Regions from separate parts of the Homo sapiens genome. Here region 2 is linked to region 1. The links are contacts of gene promoters, found by promoter capture Hi-C in human tissues and cell types (Jung and others, 2019). All regions are on one chromosome and are shown on one strand. Each heading gives the region's core, a stretch centred on a gene start or on the middle of the fragment in contact. The rest is flanking DNA. Distances are from core to core; before and after follow the strand shown.

Region 1 (3,810 bases), core at 449-2,948:
AGGGGCTTAGCACCTGGGCCACCAGCTGCTGTGCTCTATTTCTCGCCGGGCCTTAGCTGCCTCCCCAAGACCTGCAGCCTGCCATGCCTGAGCCTCCCCACCCCCACCGGCGGGCTCCTGTGCAGCTAGAGCCTCCCCGAGGAGCGACGCTCCTGCTCCACGGTGCCTGGTGCCATCCACTGCCCAACGGCTGAGGAGTGCGGGTGCACTGCACGGGACTGGCAGGCAGCTCCACCTGCAGCCCCAGTGCGGGATCTGCTGGGTGAAGTCAGCTGGGCTCCTGAGGCTGGTGGGGACTTGGAGAATCTTTATGTCTAGCTAAGGGATTGTAAACACACCAATCAGCACCCTGTGTCTAGCTCAGAGTTTGTGAATGCACCAATGGGCACTCTGTATGTAGCTAATCTAGTGGGGAGGTGGAGAACTTTTGTGTCTAGCTCAGGGATTGTAAACGCACCAATCAGCATCCTGTCAAAACGGACCAATCGGCTCTCTGTAAAATGGACCAATCAGCAGGATGTGGGTGGGGCCAGATAAGAGATTAAAAGCAGGCTGCCTGAACCAGCAGCAACAACCCTCTCCAATCCCCTTCCACATTGTGGAAGGTTTGTTCTTTGCAATAAATCTTGCTGCTGCTCATTCTTTGAGTCCACCCTGCCTTTGTGAGCTGCAACACTCTCTGCTAAGGTCTGCAGCTTCACTCCTGAAGCCAGCAAAGACCGTGAACCCACCAGAAGGAAGAAACTCTGAACACATCCAAACATCAGAAGGAACAAACTCCAGACACGCTGCCTTTAAAAACTGTAACACTCACTGCGAGGCTTCATTCTTGAAGTCAGTGAGACCAAGAACCCACCAATTCTGGACACAACCTCACCTAGAGACAACCAAACCACCCTGCACAGAGACGCAAGAGGCCCCAGGTGAAGAGTAAATGACGTCTCTAAATGCTAAGGACGCCCTGGCCAAATGGCTTTGATTTCACACCACTGCTCACTGCTCGCCACATTCTCATCCACCATGACGCAGTAAGAGAATTTTATTACTAGTGTTATTCATTTAAGAATATTTTGTTTTCCTTTTCTGGACTCCAGAAATATGTCAGTACCTTAAAGTTGGGTATCCTGTGATGAACAGGTCGGGGAAAGTCAGCTAAATTTTGTGATTCCATGTAGCCCCAAATTTGTTCACGTATGTCCTGTTTGGAGACACCTACTGCAACAAAAGATTCCCACTTAATAACATACAAAGGAATTCCAGAGCCCATGCTGAAACCGCTTAACAGTAGTTAAGCGACCCCCGCGTGTAGGTCAAACCGGCTTCCGATCCTGTTCCTGAGCCTCAGTTTCCCCGACCTCAAGGGGCCCACGGGCTCCCCCACGTGCACGGCAGGTGTCCCTCCCGCCTCGTCTTCTCGTTATCTTTATTTTTCCTGACATCTTTCTCGGGATTCCGGGCGAGAGAGCCGCTGGTTCGACCCGAACCCAGCACAGACCCCCTCTGACCTCCTCGGCCGCTTCCGGTGATTCTGCCCCATCCTCTGCCAGCCCCGGTGGCCCCGCCTCGACCCTCACCGGTCCCGGCTGTCCCTCCCCATTCCCAGCCGCCCCGGAGCCCCGCCAGGCCCCCCACCTGCCCTCGGCTCCATGGTGATGCAGTCGCTGTGCGACGCTTCCCGGCGCAGGTTCTGGCGCGTAGTGACGTCACCCGCTCCGCGCCTGCGCGATGGTAGGAGGGGCGGAGGCTGAGCGGGCGAGGCCCAGGCGCGCATGCTCGGGCGGGTAAAATCCGCGCCGGGGACAGTCAGGGATGCTCCCAGGCCCTTCGCTCTTGCTTTCAGCTAGTCATTGTCGAGCGCCGCCCGTGACAGGCGTTTTGCCAAGCCCTGGAGTTACTGAAGTGAACAAGTCCCTGGTCTCTCGGGACCCATTGCCGGTTGAAACACATCCCGCCTCCTCTTCCAGTCCTAGAGGCCGCCTCCTCCGGAAAGCCGGCCTTGATTGCTCCTCATGTAGGACGCGGTTCCCTCCTCTGAGATCCTGCAGACTCTCAGGTGCTCACACGTGGGTGTGCAGCGGATTCAGCCGGCAGCTCTTTAAAGCGGCAGGCAGATGGAAATTCGAGGCCAGCCCAGCCCCGGCGACTGCGCTGCGGACGGCCAGAGGCCATCCTTTGAGAAACACCCGTGGATTCTTACCCTGACCTCTGCATACCCTGAGAAAGAACGAACGTGGCAGCCTGCGTCTGCTTGTCTATGTCTTTCATGTTTGCTAACCTAAGGGTCGAGAAGCGGCTCGAGGAGACCAGGCTGCACAGACCGTCACGTCCATTCCCTCTCTGGCCCCAGCCCCGCGGGAAGAAAACGAGGGCGTTCAGCCTGGCAGTTCATTCACTTATTAGGAAGAAGACATCCCACACCCCCACCCAGCACACACACAGATGTCAGGGACCAGCCACTAGGAACCACTCCCTGAGCGAATGAAGGCATCCCCGTAGCCACGTGCCTGGTACATCACAAGCACTCAAAACGTGGCTGCCACCTTTCGAAATTGCATGCCCAAAACTTTATGAGATCCTCACAACACACTTGGGAAACAGACAAAAGAGTTTGAATGCCCGCCTACTTAACAGATACAGAAAATGGTGTTCCGTGTACAAGCGACTTACTCATGTCTGCTGGTAACTCATAATGTGCCGTTTGACCTCCTTAGGACATAATTAATAATGGTAATTAACAGTGCTACGATATGCCAGGCATTGAGCTTAGCGCCTTAAAAGTCATAGCTAACTATGTTTCACAGCAAACCCTCAGAGGCAAATGTGACCCGCCTCCTACGCAGGAGGCAACAGAGGCTCAGACATGTTAAAGAAGCTTGGCCTGAGTCTCCCAGCAGAGAAAGGGCAGAGCGTGTAGCCCTGACAACGTGCTTAATTGCAACTCCTGTGGGTCCCATCACAACTCTCTCTTCCTATGTGGTGTCCGCAACATTAATACATAGAGACACCGAGGAGCCTCAGTTCTGCTTGTGGGCGGGCCTGTCTTTCACCAGGCTGGCAAAAGCAGTGCAAACATCATTTTGGAGGTGATAAAATAAAATCTCTCACAGAGGTTGGATGTCCTTTCCGCCTTTCATGGAAGCACAGTAGATCTGCAGAGTGTTTTATGCAAGTAGACTTGGTGCCAGTAGTGGAAGTGTGTGCAGGATTCTGTTACCCAGCTGTGCTCAAAACAGAGCCCAAGTCTCTCCGATGGTCAGCCTGGCACGGCCCCCAGATGGTAACGAGACGCCAGGGACAATCTGCCAGTGGCAATTTTAGAAAGCAGGTGGTGCTAGGAAGGGCATTCTCTTCAGTTCCATGTTTTCAAGTTAGAAGTGCCTCAGAGCATTTACCCCCAGCTCCTTGAGGGGGTGAGGCAGAGGATCACTTGAGCCCAGGAGTTTGAGGCTGCAGTGAACTATAATGGCACCACTGTACTCCACTTGGGCGACACAGCCAGAACTCCTCTTTGAAAAACATAATAATAAATAAAAATAATAAATAGTAGTAATAAGAGACCCCTTAGAAAAAATCAACTGGCTCTTTTATGAAAGGAAGATGCTTTCAGAATGAATAGCTAATGCATGTGGGGTTTAATACCTAGGTGATGGGTTGACAGGAGCAGCAAACCACCATGGCACACATTTACTACCTATGTAACAAACCTGCACATCCTGCACATGTATCCTGGAACTTAAAATAAAATTTTAAAAAAAGAAGATGCTATTGAACCTTAACTCAAATACTTAAAACTCAATCATATGTGTAAAT
Region 2 (3,944 bases), core at 850-3,349, 65 kb after region 1:
GGTTTCTCTGTGTTGGTCAGGCTGGTCTCGAACTCCCAACCTTCGGTGATCCGCCCGCCTCAGCCTCTCAAAGTGCTGGGATTACAGGCGTGAGCCACACAGCCTGGCCATCACGATTAATCTTATAAGCAGAACGTACAATGCTGACAACTCAGCCTCGCTTTGCAGTGCCTTTCACATGCTGGTGTTATGACCGGAGGGCTCTGTCATATGGCCTGTGTGTGGCCTTTGAGAACTAGGTAGCCCCTTTTCCTGTTTAACTTTTGGGGTAAACACATTCTCATTTAAAAATAATGGAATGATAAGACTCTAGAGAAGGGCCTTCTCCTGGATGATGAGAAGTTCTTCTTGTAAAATCTCTGCAAAATGCGTCTGGGGTTGCCATATTGTTTTTTCAAACACAAAGAAACAGAATCATCTCTTTTTCCTGTGGCTTTGGTTGTTCTAGGAAGCCATCCATAACCCTCCCTCCATGCCTTTGTTCAAGCTATGTCTGTGCTTGTCTGTCTACCTCAATTCTATTGCACGCTATAGGTTGATTAAGTCCACAAGTCTTCCCTTCCTGCCCCAACCCCAACTGCCTGCAGGTGGAGTGACTTTCTATCCCTTGAACTGGGACAGAAGTGGTGTACATGTTTCCCAGCTGAGCCTTTAGGGGACCTGTCCTTCTGGCCTCTGCCCCGAGAACAACATGCCCTGGGTGGCACTGCCCTTCAGCCTGGGTTTCAGAAAGAGATCCTGAACCTCAGGGAGCAAACTTGACCTTGACTTTGACCCACAGCCCAGGATCCAACCTGGCACAACTGAGCCCAGTAGAGATCAGCCAGGCCGCAGCCGCCCTTTTGTGTATTGTGAGCACAAAATACAATACCTTTTGTTAAGCCACTGTGATGAGGGCGGGACGGTATGTGGCGTGATTGCCGCAAAAATCAGACTAACACACCATCTTCAGGTGGAGCCTATGCCCCTTTGAAAGCTTTCTCTGAGATTCGGCCTGTATACAGTTGCAGACTGGGCTGAGTTTTAAAACGTTGCCAAGCTTGATAAGCAAACCCTGTCCAGCCGTCTGAGAGCCTCCCCTTGCCATCTTGGCAGCCTCTGCTCCAGCTGGGGACTCGTCCCATGATTCAAAAATGAAAGGTTCATGCTTGGTTCAGTAGGGTGTGTCCAAGGGGCCCTGCAGGACAGGACAGCGCTGGCGGGTCCACCCTTGCTGGTTGGTGCCTGTGCTATAGTGGCTGTGGAGCATTTGGGATCTCTTCCCTGGCAGATGTGAAGAGGAAAGTGAAAGTAGATGTGAAGTGCTCAGCACAGCCGCTGGTGTATGGGGAGCCTTCCTAAGTGTCAGCGATCACGGTTGCTGTCTGCAACATAAAGTGGTCTGCTTGCCAGCACCACATCCTTCTGACTTGGCTTTGCCCTCTGTGCGCAACTGCGTGCGTGGTTCCCTAAATGATGTGAGGTGATGTGAAAACTCTACCTGTCCCCAAATACCTCCCTCACGGAGCTGCCCCCATGCCTGAATCCCGCCATTCCCGCCGTTCTCTTGGAGCAGGGCGCTGGCTCCCAGAGGCTCCTATTGAAGCTCAGGTATGAATCTGAGGTAGGAGGTAGGAGGTGGGACTCGACTGTGGAGGCGGGGCTTGGACACTGAACCAGACTGAGGACTGGCTAAAACAGGGTGGGGTGGAAGCAGCTCTCCATAAGCCACGCCCATCAGTGTGCCCAGTCAGTGGGCGTGGGCGTTACCACTCCTTTCCACGGAAATGACTCCGACGACCCAGATGTTACTACCTTTTCCCTAGAAATTTCTGCATAAACCGCCCCTGCATCTGCATGCAATTAAAAGTAGGTATCAATATGACTGCCGGACTGCCGGGAGCTGCTGCTCTCAGCACACTGCCTAAGGGTTAGCCCAGCTCTGCGGGAGCAGCCACGGAGCTGTCGCGCTGCCTGAGCTGCAATGGTGCCGCTTCAGTCAAGCTGTTTTCTTCCACCACCAGCCCACCCTTGAATTCTTTCCTGGGTGAAGCAAAAGCCCTGGTTAAGCCCCAATCTGGGGTTCGCCCACCCTGCATCAAATCCATAGAAGCTCGAGGGAGCAGGCATTGGACTAGAAGTTCTACTGGCCAAGGGGCAGCTGGAGCTGTGTCAGTGGGTCCCTGGAGCACTGGGGAGGACTCAAGCCTGGGTGCATGTAGCAGGGACACCTGGGGTTCTGCTGCACCCCAAAGGGGCGGCATTAACTGAAGGAGAATCTTGCTCTCAACAGAGGGCAGGTGTGGCAGACACCATTTGCTGGCCACCCAACACCATCCCTCGTCTTCCTCCAGGCTCCTTGCATCCTCTCAGTTTCCTGCCATAAAGACTGCAGGTCAAACAAGGGCCTCCCCAGCCCCACTTGCAGTCACAAGTGGCTGCATGAGCTGATGCTGGCTCATAACACAAGGCAGAAGTCTTCTGGAGGAACTTCTGGGAAGCTTTGTGTTCTTTATAAAACATCACCCCCATCCTTCTTATCTTGATGTGGATGTGATGTCTGGAGCTGCAGCAGTCACCTTGTGCCATGAGGAATGGCCAAGAAAGCAGCAGAGACGTGGACTCTGTTGTTAACCTGCTGAACCACTGGCCATGACTTTGGCACATGTGAGAAGATAAACCTGATTTTTAAAGCCATTGTGGCTGGGTTGTCTATTATGTTCAGCCAAACACACTCCTAATGGATACAGCTGGTTAAATAAGTGATGAGTTATCCATACAGTGGAATACAGCAGAGCCATGAAAGAGGGTGATATTGCTGTATGTTTTTAATACCATGAAAAAGTTATGATGACATGTTAAGTGGGGAAAAAACAAGTTCCAAAAGAGCATTTCTATAAATCCATTCTCTACTTATAAGAACACACACATCCATACTCACACTTATGTTTGTGATTTTCTATTTGTTAAGAAAGAGAATCTGCAAGTGTAAACATCAACATTTTATGTGTGGTGGGATCTAAAGACCTCTTTTATTTTGTTCTCTGGTATTCTGGGCTTTCTGAATTCCCTGAAATGCATGTGTACTACTTTTGTAATCAGAAAACACCAAAGCTGTGAGGAACACAGTGGGGAAGAGGTGTTTCGAGGGTGAAGGAACCACCGAGAGCAAGCTGGTCTCACTCCCAGATAGGCTGAAAGATGGGGCAGCTGATGCTGACTTTTTTTTTTTTTTTGGACGGAGTTTTGCTCTTGTCGCCCAGACTGGAGTGCAACGGTGCAATCTTGGCTCACTGCAACATTCGCCTCCTGGGTTCAAGCGATTCTCCTGCCTCAGCCTCCTGAGTAGCTGGGACTACAAGTGCCTGCAGCCATGCCTGGCTACTTTTTGTATTTTTAGTAGAGATGGGGTTTCACCATGTTGGGCAGGCTGGTTTCGAGCTCCTGACCTCAAGTGATCCACCTGCCTCAGGCTCCCAAAGTGCTGGGATTATAGGCATGAGCCACTGCACCCGGCCTGCCATTGATTTTTCTCCTCTCTTTACTCTCTTAGAATGCTGTGCACACTCTTCTGCCCCTACAGCTCCCTAAAGGGCCAGCCTGTGCACCCTTCGGAGCCCCCATCAGATGGGAGCTGCTAGGTCATTGTGGCACCAATGGCTGGTGCCGTCTTAAGGACTGGACATCTTCCTTCCTCTTTCCCTTTCTCCTACCCTTCCATCTCTTCTTTATTTCTTCTTCCATCTCTCTCTGCTTTTTCCTCTTCCTCCTTCCATCCCTGCCCCACACCCCTCACAGCCTTCCTGAGAACCAGCTGCGAAGCCCTTAATCTGCAGCCGGAGGACACAGACCAGGTCCTGCCCCACGGAGCTCCGAGCCTGGGAGGAGTCACTGAGCACGGTGACCCTATGTGGTGTGTAGACGGAGGGCACAGGATCCACGCGATGCAGAACAGACCAGGCCTT

The links. Contacts are between HindIII fragments. The study calls those that stand out against the background at their distance.
Region 2: a contact is called between a fragment that was not itself captured here and the fragment with the promoter of MTHFSD in region 1, in 2 of the 25 tissues and cell types used here (mesendoderm cells and thymus).

Annotation. Positions count from the first base shown.
Region 1 is chr16:86,553,537-86,557,346 of GRCh38, forward strand. It overlaps MTHFSD (methenyltetrahydrofolate synthetase domain containing), which reads right to left and starts at 1,699. Exons shown (of 8, transcript NM_001159377.2): 1 at 1,633-1,699; 2 at 1,109-1,215. The coding sequence starts at 1,648. FLJ30679 (a long non-coding RNA gene) reads left to right here and starts at 1,784. Exons shown (of 1, transcript NR_026674.1): 1 at 1,784-3,763. RefSeq lists enhancers at 1-633, 1,602-1,651, 1,692-1,981 and a silencer at 1,556-1,769. The HindIII fragment of the contact is 6,717 bases long and covers 1-3,810 here.
Region 2 is chr16:86,617,833-86,621,776 of GRCh38, forward strand. No RefSeq gene overlaps it. Among named protein-coding and RNA genes, the nearest start is that of FOXL1, 41 kb to the left of the region's middle. RefSeq lists an enhancer at 3,789-3,944. The HindIII fragment of the contact is 6,319 bases long and covers 1-3,944 here.